3 separate regions of the Homo sapiens genome follow, and all the other regions are linked to region 1. Evidence: promoter capture Hi-C in human tissues and cell types (Jung and others, 2019). All regions are on one chromosome and are shown on one strand. Each heading gives the region's core, a stretch centred on a gene start or on the middle of the fragment in contact. The rest is flanking DNA. Distances are from core to core; before and after follow the strand shown. Region 1 holds the start of SRP54 (signal recognition particle 54). Region 2 overlaps RALGAPA1 (Ral GTPase activating protein catalytic subunit alpha 1). Region 3 has its middle 28 kb from the start of INSM2.

Region 1 (5,117 bases), core at 1,956-4,455:
AGCTCTAGGCAGTATGTGACATCTTTCTAGGCACTCAGTGCTTTTAGAATAAATGACCTTGTGCTGAGGAATGTGAAAAAAAAGATGTAAATCGGTGCTGTTTTATTGACAAATGGGATATGAAGAATGAAATGTGCGGCCGAGCACGGTGGCTCACGCCTGTAATCCCAGCACTTTGGAAGGCGGAGGCGGGCAGATCACGAGGTCAGCAGATCCAGACCATCCTGGCCAACACGGTGAAACCCCCTCTCTACTAAAAATACAAAAAATTAGCCGGGCGTGGTGGCGGGCGCCTGTAGTCCCAGCTACTCGGGAGGCTGAGGCAGGAGAATGGCGTGAACCCGGGAGGCGGAGCTTGCAGTGAGCCAAGATTGCGCCACTGCACTCCAGCCTGGGGGACAGAGCGAGACTCCGTCTCAAAAACAAAAACAAAAACAAAAAAGAAATGTGCAACATAGGGTTTAGATGAAGTGACAGGAGACTCAGCATATTATGGAAATTATTATCTTGATTTTGTGTATATAGAAATAAAGCTGTATCCGGCTGGGTGCGGTGGCTCATGCCAGTAATCCAGCACTTTGGGAGGACGAGGAGGGCAGATCACGAGGTCAGGAGTTCAAGACCAGCCTAGCCAACATAGTAAAACCCCGTCTCTACTAAAAATACCAAAATTAGCTGGACGCGGTGGTTCGTGCCTGTAATCCCAGCTACTCCAGGGGCAGGAGAATCACTTGAATCCAGAAGGCAGAGGTTGCAATGAGCTAAGATCGTGCTACTGCACTCCAGCCTGGCGACAGACTGAGAATCCGTCTCAATAAATAAATAAATAAACAAAGCTGTGTATCTGGTTTTCTATACTTTCCAGGTCAAATCTCACTAGCAGATGTTCCTGTTATCTTCAGTTTGACATCTTATCTAAAATGACTCCTAAAATGTGTAATAATGTTAATTATAATATCTAAACCTACTGACTCTAACATCACAAAGAATTTTAAGAGGTCGAGGTTAAAAATCTAAAATTGTAAGTCATCAGCTAACAATGACATTTCAAGTCATGAGCTTGGATAAAAATAACCATGGAAATCACCATTCAGCAAAATACAGGCATAGTGGCCAGGCGTGGTGGCTCACGCCTGCAATCCCAGCACTCTGGGAGGCCCAGGCAGGAAGATCACCTGAGGTCAGCAGTTTGGGACCAGCCTGGGAAACATGGTGAAACTCCGTCTCTACTACAAATACAAAAATGAGCCGGGCGTGGTGGCGGACGCCTGTAATCCCAGCCACTCAAAATCGCTCGAATCAGGGAGGTGGAGGTTGCAGTGAGCTGGATGGCGCCACTGCAGCCCCGCCTGGGCAACAAGAGTGAAACTCTGTCTCAAAAAATAAATACACACACATACACACACACACACACACACACACACACACACACACACACACTCTCGCATACAGGCATAGGATAGTTTGCTATAGTTAACAAACATAAGAATATCCTATTTTCTTGAGCTTTCATCAGGCTTTACTTTGCCAGAATACATCTATCCCATTTTTCAGTAACTAGATCTAGCTACCACATTTCCTCAGTTTTAACGTGTGTGTTTAAAGAGACAGGGTCTTGCGTCGCTCAGGCTGGAGTGAAGCAGCGGGATCAAAGCTCACTGCAGCCTTTTTCTGTCTATAAATCTTCAACACTTGGCTGCGCTGCAATCTCTCTGAGCCTGCCCGATTCGTGAATCATTCTTTGCTCAAAATGTTAAATTTAACTTGGCTAAGGTTTTTCGTTTAACACTTCCTACTAACGCTACAGCCTAAAACCTCTCCTGCAAAATGCTTTTTCAGGTGGCAACGTACCAATTCTAACAAGTTTGTGGGAGTAATGGGGAGGAGGGCTAACCCTCTATTTTCTTTCAGAAAAAGGGTTAGGCACAAGGAGCTCTAAAGGCTTGTCCGAAGTCTGCTGAAAACTCACAAACCACTCAGAACCAGGTTTCCCACACCCAATTAATTCCAAGTGGTACTGTATCCGATTACCCCCATTTTCCAAGAGATAGTTTATTTTTTCCCCTCTTTTCCCCTCCCCACTACACTTTCCACTTAGCCCTTTTTGAACTGCAAAATAACCTCTCAACTCCCCTCACCAGACCATTCTCTACAGAGCAAATTCATCTACGAGATCCAAGACGCAACTCCCACCGCCAGGCGGTCGCCTCAGAAGGGTAAGCAGAAAGCATGCCCACTTGGCCACTTTTACAACTTATTTCTGCTCAGAAATGCACCAACTCAACTACCCGGTAGATAAGGCACCAGCTAGCAGAGACCTCTTGCTCATTTCCTCTTGTACCTTATAAAATGCCCGCTTTTTTGCTCCAAAGACGAAGCGGGCTGGCTTCAGAAATAAAATCCCTCTTCTTGTATACTAGGGCTCGCTCTTGTTAATTGGTGTCTACGTGTGGCGAGCAACTAACTCTCTTTTCCGTTAGAGCACTCAAAGCCCTGGTCAATCTACCCCCCAAGACAGCAGAGACCAGCACAACGATCCCAAGGAAGGCTGTTGGCTTCACCCCGCTTAAGTCCTCAAAGTCAGCGCCTGCAGCATATCCTTGCCCCCACCACCTGCCTCTAGCTCTGGTCACTTACACTTACGGTTAGTTCGCATCCACTGTAACAGCGCCTGGCGGTCGGCAGGAGCCACAGTGCGAAGCGGCCGCAGCATCACTGCCTGCCTCGCAGTGGGAAATTTTACCTTGCTGGAGCAAGCCGCGCAGGCACTGGCTGGCATTGCGCATGCGCAAGCAGAGACCGCCCCACCCTCCGCGGAACAAGCCTCCGGTCTGCAAAGCCCTAAGCCCCGCCCCTCTACGGAGGTCTCACGTGCGCCTGGGGATCCCTGCCTTCAGTCACACCTCTATCTCTCATCTTTCCGCTCTTAGCTGGGAGTGCTCCGCCTAGTCACTTTTCTTAAGGTGGCTCGTCGAGGCCTGACTTCTTCCCCGAAATCACGTCCCTAGACAGCCTCCTATTTTACCACTAACTTTACTCCTGCAGTTATTCAGCGGTAGGAAACTGAAACCAAAAACCAGTGTAAGCAAGTAAACATCTAAACTGTTTCAGGAGCCGCGTAGAAGGAACGCGGCGGTGTGCCCCGGAAGCGGAAGTAGATTCTCCTATAGAAAGGCTGGACTACGCGGAGTGGTGACGTTTCCTCATTGGGCGGAAGGTTCGCTGGCACTCCGTTGGTCTTCCAGCTGGTGGGAGTTGACGACGTGGTGCTGGGCGTTGGGACCCTACTTTATCTAGTTCGGGAAGTTGGGTTGTGGGGTCATACCTGTCTGTCTGCTCCCAGCTTTCTTGGGTTTCTTCCGACGGCGTGGGGCCTCGCTAAGGAATTCCCGGCCCCTCAGGGCCACGGCTTTAGCGGTGTCTTTTGCGGTAAGTGTCTGCTTTTTCCCGCCCCAGACTACGGAGGGGGAGCGAGGGGCAGCCCCAGCGCTGCTCAGGAGGCGAGAGACTCCGGGGGAAGTCGGCCTCCGTGGCCACCGGCCATCGTTACCGAGACTGAGTTTCTGTGGCTCTTTATCTCGTCTTCCATGAGAAGTTTTATTAAAGATGCGCTGTGCCCCTTTTGAGTTGTCTTCCGATTTACCTGAGCCAAATAAGATGTAGGCAGTTGCAGGCCTGAGTCTTCGTTTTGCTTTCCTGAGCAAGAATTTAGATGAAGCTACTTCCCCGAAAATCCTTTTACTTGTACGAGACTTTTATTTTTCCTATGTGTTTGTAGTGCTTAACACAATGTCCTGCGTGTAGTAGACGTTCAATAAACGAATATGGAATATCAGTTGAATGCCAATGATGATTTAAGATAGACTGATAGCTCTCTCTGTACCATTTGACGCTGCTGACCATCCATTTCTTGAAACTTTCCCCTGCTGCCTTTCTTCATGCTATCCTCACCTGATTCTTTCACATGCTTAATTTAACAAAATATATACTTGTTCTTGGCTACAAGGATACAGAAATGAATAACACTAACTCTGCCATTGAGAAGCTAACGCACATAAATACACATTATATCAAGATGGGTAATGAGAAACACTAGTTGCATATAAAGAGCTGTAGAAAGCTGTGGGAGAGCTAAAGTGCTCCTTAGGTGCTTTGTGACCCTGAGCCAGTTTCTATTCCAATCTAGCCTCAATTTCCTCATCTACTTAATAGGCTTGTTTTGAGGAAGAAAGGAGATTAGGTAAGAGGTTTGGTTTGGTTTAGTGCCTAGAATACAGCAATCGTGGTGCCAAAGGGGAGGGAAATATTTCCCTCAAATCGCTTTTTCTCAGTTTTTTGATATGGCCAACTGGTATTTTCTACCTTAATATAGAGTACTATGCAAAAGCATCTTCAAGTCTTCCTTCCAGATTACTCCTCTGTCCCCATCTATTTGGAAATTCTGGACCTGCCACAGGATTACAGTAAGATAACCATAAATGTAGCTTTTTAAAAATTGATTTTCTCCTATGTGCCATGGAGAAAGGGAAAGGGAATTAGTAAAAGCTCCTATCTCTTTGGTTATTTTCAGTCTTGGTTAACGCCGTCCTTTTAGTTGGCCCTCAGTCATTGCTATAACCCAAATGGTCTTCCACAGGCTCTCCTCGAGGCTTCTCGCTTGCTTCCATGGCATTGTCCCTATATGCCAACCATGTCCAAACCTTATTCTTTTCATTTCCAAACCTTGTTCTTTTCCAAACCTTATTTGCTCTGTCGCCCAGACTGGAGTACCGAGGCACCATCTCGGCTCACTGCAACCTCCGCCTCCCAGGTTCAAGCAATTCTCCTGCCTCAGCCTTCCGAGTAGCTGGGATTACAGGTGCCTGCCACCACGCCCAGCTAATTTTTGTGTTTTTAGTAGAGATGGGGTTCCACCATGTTGGCCAGGTTGGTCTTGAACTCCTGACCTGAAGTGATCCGCCTGCTTCGGCCTCCCAAAGTGCTGGGATTACAGGTGTGAGCCACCATGCCCTGCCTAAACCTTATTCTTTAGCCTCCATCTCATGAGTTGATAGTTCTGTACTTTCCCCTAAAACTTGCAAACTCATTAGGTCCAAAACCAAATGCACTGTCTTCAC
Region 2 (5,117 bases), core at 1,441-3,940, 710 kb after region 1:
TGGGCACAAGCCAATATAGCATGTAGTGTCAATGAATTAGAAAACTACCAAAACACATTTTAAAATGTTAACATGCATAGAAACAGACAGTGAGGTGATGAAACATTTGGAAGTGCAGATAAAGATAGAGCTGTGCCAATAAATCAAGCAACTCAAATGCTATTAAATTTTTCCTACTTATTTACGTTCCAAGCAGAAAAAATACACCTTAACACAGAAAGCCGATCCAAGTATCCCACTGTAGACTCTTATAGGGTCTAATAAATTCTCCAGCTTCCTTCCCAAAAAGGCAAGAGGCATCTTTTCTTCAAATTTTGCTTCTCTGTTTGATTACATATTAGAAATGAAAGTCTCTACCCTCTTCCTAAATTTCTCTTTGTCAGGAAACTGTTCTCCCCAGGTGTTTTACTTTATTACGTATTAAAATCTTATTCACTGACATCAAATAAAGTCAATATATTTTTTAAAAAATCAATTGTATTCTTTTGTTTTTGGCAAAAACACCACTTAAATCTGCTAGGAAGAAACTTTACCTGCCTGTTATTGGCCCTTTCCATTAAACAGCCATCAAGCTCTAAAAACTATATTTCTGGCTTCTTACATCTCTTTTTAAGAATTATAGGCTGGGCGCGGTGGCTCACACCTATAATCCCAGCACTCTGGGAGGCTGAGGTGGGCAGATCACCTGAGGTCGGGAGTTCAAGACCAGCCTGACCAACATGGAGAAACCCCATCTCTATTAAAAACACAAAACTAGCCGGGCGTGGTGGTGCATGCCTGTAATTCCAGCTACTTGGGAGGCTGAGGCAGGAGAACTGCTTGAACCCATGAGGCAGAGGCTGCGGTGAGCCGAAATAATGCCACTGCACTCCAGCCTGGGCAACAAGAGCAAAACTCCGTCTCAAATAATAATAATAATAATAATTATTATTATTATTATAGATGGACATTCAGAGATTATCTAATTTAACTATCTCACAGATGAGAAAATTGAAGCCCAGAGAGGTTAAGTTACTTTATCAAATTTACAATAAAAAAGTTTGAGAAACAGGCTTAGTGTTGCATATCACTGCATTATTTTCACTGCCTTCAGTGTCAGGATGAAATAACCATTTAACTGTTCAGATATATACAAATTCTCAACAGGAATTGTGGAAGCAAAATACAATGTCTATGAATCCATCATGGTCTGTAAGTTACCTAGAAATAACAAAAAAAAATTGTTTTCAGAAGTCAGCAAAATATAATGAAGAAAGGACAGAGTCAAAAAGTCAGCTGTTGCTACTTATTAGGCTTCTTGCACAAAAGTTAAATGCAACAGAACTATAACTGAACAATCAAAATGAGAAAATTTAGATCCAGAAGCAAAGCAGTGACTTGTCCAAGATTACAAAATAATTTGTTGATTCTTACTCTAGATTTTGAGACTAGTTTCCTCATTTATAAAATGGAGATAGTCATTCAAAGTATTTTTGGGATCCATGCTACTATGGCTGAAAAAAGGCTAGTCCCTCTGCAATTTCATTCATATCACCCTATTTGTATGAGGTCCAAATGGACCTACTTTATACTAAATTGAGATCAACATAGGTTTGTATTATGCCAAGATTCTAGTATATTCCTAGTGATATACTAGTAGGCTCTCAACATAGGTTAAATATATAGTATCTCCTGAAGCTGAAACAATTAACTTTTTGTCCTTAAACTGAGGGGAATGTGCAACTTTAAAAAATGACATTGTTTTTCTTCCTCATGCACTCCACTGAGAAATTTTTCTAAGTGAAAAGCGAAACATTTCCTTACAAACTTCACTTTGATGCACTTATACTCATTAAGCGTTTGTTAATACAGCAGATAACTAACTCATATCTGTGCATCTTGACAAACATAAATATTTCGGTTTTTTACATCTGCCATAAGAGATCATAAGAACTTCTGCCTCAATGACAGAGATTATATTCAGCATGCACTCTAAATTTCTTTCCACACAATATTCTAAAGAACTCAGCAAAGGATAAAGACTGTATAGCTGTTCTATAAGAATTCTTACGAATTTTATAGCTTGGAATTTATTTTACCAAAGGTCAAAATCAAGATTTCAAAACATTAAAATCATAAAAACATTATGACACTAGCAAATGTACAAATGTCAGAAAAAAATAAAATATTAGTTTTAATTTTTAATTTCTTTTATAGATATTTCACAATTTTTCCATTCTAAAGAAGCCAGGAAAGATTATTATGATGTTCTGTGTTTAGGAATTCCTTCCCAAACTCAGCCCTCACTCCTTGTATATTAGAAAACGTAACCATTATTTCAGCCTATGTTTTTTTTTTTTCCTAAAACTTGTTACCATATATGACTATCTAAAACTTCTGTGCAAGCTTAAGAGGGAAAGAGCTTTAAAAAAAAAAAATGTAACTGGTTTTTTTCTACCAATATTGTAGTACCGGAGAATTTAAATTTAAACAATGTTTTTAAAAATTCTTAAGATTTAAATATAGTTCTTTCATGGCACATAATAATACTAACTACATAAAATCAAAGAAGAAAATAACACTGACAGGAAACCAACTTTATGCTAAATTCAGATCAAGAGGGCTGAATTATGTCAATACAAATGGCACTTGAATTGAGCATAATTGACTCTAATAAGCCTTACATTAGTTGAGCAAATATATACAGCTGAACTTTACTGAGAAAAAGACTAAATAATAACTAAACTATATATAGTATTTTCCACATGCCAGGTATTGTTGTAAGCATCTGACATATCATTCATTTAATCCTCACAACAACCCCATGAAGTAGGTGCTATGCCTATTTTATAAATGAAGAAACTCTTTAAGTGACTTGTCCAAAATTACACAACTACAAAGTGAGGAGTTGTGGTGTCAAGTAAGGCAGAAATTAATCTTTACTCTTAATCTCTTGAATAATACATCATATATGTTTTGTACTCATGAAATAATTTATTAATTTTTAAATAAAACTTGGTAAAAATTAATTGTATTATTAAAAAACCATAAAGCCAGGCTTTAGTTATATCTCAATATAAACAAAAAAGAATTTTAAAAAAACCACAGAGCAGCATAGTGATTTATCTCTATAAAGATAAGAATGTTAGAAATAAAAATCTAACTAAAACAAATGTTAGTAAATTATACAGAAGGAACCAATAAAAAAACTTTGAATTGCTAAAAATAATGGTGGCATCAGGTTTAAATAAAAATGCCCTCAAAACAATTTAATTATGCTTCTTATATTTTAACTTAAAAAATGAAAGCTTTTAAATAAAATTTTATATATTTTTCTCTTTCTTTTCTTTTTCTTAAGGGAAACCAACTGTGTCCTCTTACTCTCCCAGAGGAAGAGAAGAACGATCACCCATGTTCAGAGAAACTCCTCTACTAACATACCTTAGAAATTATGCTTGAAAGTATAGTCTTTTCAATTAAATGTTAATCTAAAGCATTAGAAACCACTTAATGAGTGAAACAATAAAAACGTTGTTTTCAAGAGATTTACACAAACTGCTTTTGAACATTGAGAAAATGCTTTGGTAAAATAAATTTAAATTTAGAGTTTAAAAACTCTATAAAGTTACAGAAATGTCAAGTTTTATCTCTGGGTTTCCTTAATACTGTTTAGCATTAAAATGGGTCAATTATTTCTAGATTAAAAAACCGGTTTTTTCCCGGAAATATTTTGTTCAAAAAGTTTCCTGTGTTAGTTTGAAAGGAAAGCTGTACATTAAAGTATACTGTCAGCTTATAAAATGTTAAGAAAAAAGTACTCCTTTCCACTAGATTTAAGTCTCTTGAGGATTTTTGTTTTGTTCATTGCAATATCTCTATTGATTGAAAGAGGACCTGTCACATAAGTATGGGCTTAATAAATACTGGTAGAAGAAAAGCTCGCCTTAAAAAAAAAAAGTAGCTGCTTATTGGTAAAAAGCAAGTTAGTTACTCACAAACTCTTCAGTTAAAATACTAACATATCACTAGAAATTTTAATAATTTCTGAAATGAATCATAGAATCAAGGGCCAAAATCCCCTTTACTAAAGTTAAATTATTTTACTGGTCAAGCACGAACGTTAGCTATCAGTAATATTTTTATGGTCCCTAAATTCATAATATCATTTAAACTAGTTTACATAGAAATTGATGCCATTTTGAAACTCAGTTTTTTTCTGCTAATTACCTAAGTTTTTGTCTATTTGGGCAACAACGGCAATGTACTTCAAGGTAAGTAAAAACGATAGAGCATCTATGTTTCAAATATTATTAACAGAGGCTATTAAAATTCTATCTTTTTAAGATTAGATGTTCAATTTGCAGGTAATTCAAAGCAGTTTTTACATTATTGTAATCATATGAAAAGACTTAAAAGCAACAAATCAAGCTCAATAGTTTTCATTTAAACCACTAAAATTTAGCCCAGTCGACTATCTTCTCTTTTATTCTAATATTGTTTTCCTGATTTTAAAATTTTGAACATAAACTACCAATACATTTTTTATGTTAAGAAAAGTATAGTGTTTTGCTTATGATTATGCTATATAATGTCATGTTTAAGTTAGCTTCACATTTTTCTTGAGATGTTCTTTTTAAAAAATTAATGCAGGCCAGGCGCAATGGCTCACACTTATAATTCCAGCACTTTGGGAGGCCCAGGTGGGTGGACCACCTGAGGTCAAGAGTTCGAGATCAGCCTGGCCAACATGGTGAAACCCCATCTCTACCAAAAATTAAAAAAAAATTAGCTAGGCATGGTGGCGGACTTCTGTAGTCCCAGCTACTCGGGAGGCTGAGGCACAAGAATTGCTTGAACCCAGGAAGTGGAGGTTGCAGTGAGCCAAGATTGCACCGCTGCATTCTAGGCTGGGCGACACAGCAAGACTGTGTCTCAAAAAAATTAACGTAAATTATTCCAGGAAAAAAAAATTAATTTGCCAGGAGGCTGAGGTGGGAGGAATGCTGGAGCCCAGGAGTTCCAGGCTGCAGTAAGCTAGGATGGCACCACAGCAATCAAGCCTGGGCAACACAATGAGACCCTATCTCTTAAAAAAAAAAAATCTAATTGGAATTATGCTATAATCAGCAGATTACAAG
Region 3 (5,117 bases), core at 927-3,426, 520 kb after region 1:
CAGACCATGCTATTTAAAGAAATGATAGACTTTGACAACAGGAAGGTACACACCTGATTAGTTTTTCTAATTACGTGCTTATTACATATACATATATGTATCTCTAGTTCTATCCATTTATATACATAATTAGGAACATGTTTTTTCTAAAAATAGAATATTTAATGTAATGTTTAATTTTTCATTATTACACCTTAATAGGAAAAAATGGAATACTAAAATTTATCTTTAAATATATAGTTTCATGGTCAGTAGTATTAAGACAATACTGTTTATTTATTTAGGGCTCATAACCTTAGGATTTTTAACTTTCAGGAAATACCAGCCTAAAGTAAATTATTAATTCAAGGATGCTAGATAAAGACTCTTCATGAAAAAGAAACGCTATACCCTGCTGTGTTGCAGGCTCTCAAACTGTCCCTCAAAACGTTCCTAATACTGCTCACTGCACTAATTTTTTTTTCCTTTGTCGTCTCCCTTTCTATAGTCAGAAGCTATCTAGTCCCTCCCTCTTTAGTCTCCAGGGAAAAGGTGTTAGCTCATTTACTTGTCATTATTGAGCTTCTTTCTTTCCCACAAAAGCCAGTCTATTTATCATTCTTCTTTTTAGGCTTGGACAAAAAAGAGAAAACTTTATACTTTTTTTTAAGCAGAGGCACATTAATATTAAATCCCTTAAGCAGGAATTTCAAGGAGAATGTCTCAGAACAACATTTAAACCAACATCATAAATGCTTCCTCCTTTTAATAAAAGAAACTCTCTGAAATAATGCTGTCCTCAAGAGGGTCATCTGATAGTTTTGGTACTATCTTCTCATTTCTACTATCTTTCTACAATTGTTGTTGTGAAAAGTATTAGAGAAATAGATAGATGCTCTACACAAAATCTTCACAATATGGTCAACTTCCTTTCCCCCTCAAGCCCACCTTTCATGCATGCACACATCTATGCTTTGTTTTTAACTTCTTATATTCAATTTTTATTCTTGTTATTGAATGAAGCTCTGATTGGTTTACTATATGACAAATATTCTTTGCATTTTAAGAATCTCAGGTAGCTCTCTATCTTTTTTCACATTGGTTAGAGAGGCAGGGATCAAAGTACAAAACTGGGACAGTCACTGCTTATGTTTGTGCTTTATCTCATTAAGTGCTGATCACCAGGAAGGCAAACAGCCTGTCACGAAATTTGCCTTGCAAAGAATATAATAAAGAAATCTTATGAAAAGAGGCTGAACAGAAGGTATGTTTAATCTGTTGTAATGTTGGTTAGCCCCAGTTTCAGACCAAGAGTGATGATACTTGGAAAAAAAATTGGGAGTCTGCCTGCGGGCAACATTTACCCCGATGTAGAGATTGCTACAGAAACCTAACTGTGGGAAGTTTTCAACACATAAGTAAGGATTTATTAAAGGAATTAATATCTTTGAAGGCTCAGAAAGCAATCCTATTTTCCTACAAGATGGATGAAAGGCAGAGATTTCAAAACATTTGCTAGAAAACATCAATAGCCAATCCTGCTGATTTAATTTTTTCAATCCCTCAGGCATCAAAAGAAGTTGTGACTTGTCTACATTGCCTCGAAAGCAAAGCAATATTGTAAATTAAAAATGACTGGAGCTTAGCTGGCTGCATTTCATTTTTAATTAGTTGAATTTTCAAATATTTATCAACATTTCTTAAGCTCAGAAGCTAAAGAACTTCCCCTCACATTTTTTTTCTGAAGAAGGTTGGTGATATTCACTTACACGTCAAGGAAAAAGTCGTTAGATTTAGCTGGCTATCACAAATACTAGAAGAAATGGTATTTAGTCATCTCCATTTCTCTTCTTTTTTATTCTTGAGCAAGCAGAGACTTCCTATTCTTTTTAACCAGTTGGGAACTCACAAAACATAAACTCAGAGATTGATGGTAAAAATGAAAACAGATTCTGACAACATGTTACATCCCAATCACAAAAGTGTAACAAAGGCAAAAAATTTAATCCTCATTAGTGTAGTAGTGAGAAACAAAAAACCAAATTTTTTTTTTTTAAAGCAGCTGATTTTGCTTTAGGCATTTCGTCGAGGTGTGTGGTTAATTCATAAGCGGCAGGGGCAAGGTAGCCCCAGATTTTGGAATTGGTTTGCCTCTGAGAATAAAAATTAAAATGAAAAGAATAAAAATGTAATAGATGAGGCTAATCATCTATTCAAAAATATATATTTTATTGACTACTCTTTTATGTCAGGTACTATTTTAAGCACTTGGGATAAAGTGGTGAACCAGAAGTCAAGGTCCCTGACATCATGAAGCTTATATTCATTTATAGAAATATTTAGTCCTAACCAATACTCTGTGAATGGTAGAGTTCTAGGAGCATCTAAACTCTTTTCAAGGTAACAAGTATATTTTCAAGAAAATGTGTCTGTATTAGTATATCTAAATCTTTAACCTTGTCAATTATATTTAATCTTACCTGAAAAATGTGTTAAAAAAGGAGACTAGAAAAAGGAGAGGCCAAGAGCAGGAATTTCTCAGTGTGTCTTCAGCATGGCCCTGGGCAGAGGAAGCAACTTCCACTCCCCTTAGCAGCTTCCAATCCCCTTTGCAAGTCTATTCTCAACAGTGAAGATGGATACATCAGACAAGCTTGATGCCATTAGTAATGGTGATCCAACTAACTCTCACTGCCATGAATCCAAAGTGATCAAGCAATCTTTGGTTACAGTGTGGCTTCCCATATGGATTTTCCCACAGAGAGAGGATGTGTTCTTTACAGCCCCAAGGACCCCAGTCCTTTTAAAGCTATAGTTCTTAAATCAGTCAGCATTAAATTCTTAATTAATTAATTCTTAAATCGGTCAGCATTAAACTTAAATTCTTAATTAATTAATTCTTAAATCAGTCAGCATTAAACTTAAATCAGTCAGCACTCTAGTTTATATTTAAGTATCTCAGGGGCTTGATTATGAATCTGAACATTTTTGACTATTCTGACAAAACTGAATTTCTAGAATGATAAAGTTTTAGCTCAGACCCTCGAACAGTATTTCGCCAAGAAAAGTTAAAATTTATGGCATGAGAATCATCTAGGGAGCTTGTTAAACATACAGATTCCTGAGACTCATATTGTACTTATACTAAATCAGAATCTTTAAAGATGAGGCTCAAGATCTGCATTTTACCAAGGCTTCCAAATGATTCTAATGTACTTTAATAAAGCTGGAAAGTCACTGTCTGAGAAGCAAGGGATCGCATCTAATGAAGCTCTGTTTGGGCATTTGGCCAGTTTCCGACATATCATCTCCATCTTTATACATTGTAACAAAGTGTTTCAGCGAATTCCTGTCAAGGCTTGGTGTCTTTCACAATCCGGCCTCACTTTTCCAGTCTCATTTCTCACCTTTCCTCTCAATCACTTTATGCTTCAACACTCTGAATACACGATTTTCATGGCTCTAGGCCTCTACATTACTTGAGGGTTTTTCTTTTTGGGGGAGAAGAGGGGGTGGACGACAAATAGCATCCCAGTTCCTTGCCTGAGTTCTAAACCAACTGAAGGAGGCAGTTTGAGAACAAAATATCACTATTATTACCAACAATGCCTAGATTGGAGAATGTGGCTTATATATGGAAACTAAAAGCCTTCTTAATTCTGAAGCCCAGAATTAGACATACTTACCCATCCTGTCTCAGGAAGAACAGGATAACTACTGGCCTCATCTCTCATAAGCAACCAATTATTTCTAAGCTTATGTAAGGCCAAGAGCAGACCAGGTCTATCAGACAGAGGAGGGAGGAAGGAAGTGGCTGAGGCTGAGTCAAGCATACCAAGTTCCTGCTCCCTAACTCATTAGTTAAAATAAGCAATTCCTCTACAACTGGGAAGAAATGATGAGTGAAGGGATGGAAAGAGTCCAGGACCATTGCTCTAATGGATGTCCCTTGACAAGAAAGGAAACAACTGGAGTGGAGAGTAATGCACCCCCATGACAGCATGCCCTACTGGTGCTTGAGGTACCCTATTACTCTCCAATCCTTTCTCTTAGTTTGACTACCTTATTCCTACTCATCTTTCAAGATATAGCACAAATGTTCACTCCTCTGTGAAGCTTGAGGAACTGAGGGGAGTACTCCCACCTTAATGCTGTCATAGGACTTTAAATGACTTTTATTATGGTACTTTTCATGTAATACACTTAGCTATTTTCTTTCTCTTATGAGTGCAGGGATTGTGACTTATATGTCTTTATATTTCCATAGTAGGTGTCCGATGAATTTTTGCTGAATGACTGTGAAAAAGAAGGTACATTCAAATATTTTTAAAGCTTAGTATTTTTAAGCCTGATTATAGCACCAAGACCAACAAGAAGACTAGTATTTTCCTTTATAGGATTTTCTTTTCTGAAAAAATTGACTAACAAATCTGGTCAAGGCTGATATTGCCTATTTAAGCCCCATCATAGAAACCCAATTGGCATCATCTTATTAACATGGCATATATGACTGATGATCTGATCCTAAAACAGGCCTTCTTTCAGTTACTGTAGCTTTACCTACTCAGGATAAACTAGTAGGTAATAATCACTTAAAAAAATTCTCCAATGAAGTAGAAACTACTAATAGAGAAGTTATTTCAGGTAAAACTTGAAATTTCAAAGTTCAATTATAAATTTATATTATGATTAATGATTTGCATGCATGTTTTATAATGGGAATGTTTCTCTTTCTTTTCTTTCTTTCTTTTTTTGAGACGGAGTCTTGCTCTGTTGCCCAGGCTGGAGTGTAGTAGCAGGATCTCAGTTCACTGCAACCTCCGCCTCCTGGGTTCAGGCGATTCTCATGCTTCAGCTTCCCGAGTGGCTGGGATTACAGGCGCCCACTACCATGCCTGGCTAATTTTTGTATTTTTAGTAGAGATAGGGTTTTGCCATGTTGGCCAGGCTGGTCTCGAACACCTGACCTCAGGTGATCGACCCGCCTTGGCCTCCCAAATACTTTCTCTCTTTCTCTCCAAGTATATATGTTGTCTCTAATTGTGTAAAGAAAGGATAAAAGGCATTTTACTTTTAAATTTCAACACTACAGGCCAGGCATGGTGGCACATTCCTGTAATCCCAGCACTTTGGGAGGC

Evidence for each region. Contacts are between HindIII fragments. The study calls those that stand out against the background at their distance.
Region 2: a contact is called between a fragment that was not itself captured here and the fragment with the promoter of SRP54 in region 1, in 1 of the 25 tissues and cell types used here (heart left ventricle).
Region 3: a contact is called between a fragment that was not itself captured here and the fragment with the promoter of SRP54 in region 1, in 1 of the 25 tissues and cell types used here (hippocampus).

The regions. Positions count from the first base shown.
Region 1 is chr14:34,979,787-34,984,903 of GRCh38, forward strand. It overlaps SRP54 (signal recognition particle 54), which reads left to right and starts at 3,206. Exons shown (of 16, transcript NM_003136.4): 1 at 3,206-3,429. It overlaps SRP54-AS1 (SRP54 antisense RNA 1), which reads right to left and starts at 2,780. Exons shown (of 5, transcript NR_151701.1): 1 at 2,638-2,780. RefSeq lists a silencer at 1,177-1,471 and enhancers at 2,357-2,406, 2,525-3,226, 2,617-2,706, 2,887-3,386, 3,417-3,676. The HindIII fragment of the contact is 37,786 bases long and covers 1-5,117 here.
Region 2 is chr14:35,690,167-35,695,283 of GRCh38, forward strand. All of the region lies in intron 17 of RALGAPA1 (Ral GTPase activating protein catalytic subunit alpha 1), which reads right to left. Among named protein-coding and RNA genes, the nearest start is that of SNORA101B, 70 kb to the right of the region's middle. The HindIII fragment of the contact is 3,370 bases long and covers 1,006-4,375 here.
Region 3 is chr14:35,503,351-35,508,467 of GRCh38, forward strand. No RefSeq gene overlaps it. Among named protein-coding and RNA genes, the nearest start is that of INSM2, 28 kb to the right of the region's middle. The HindIII fragment of the contact is 3,476 bases long and covers 439-3,914 here.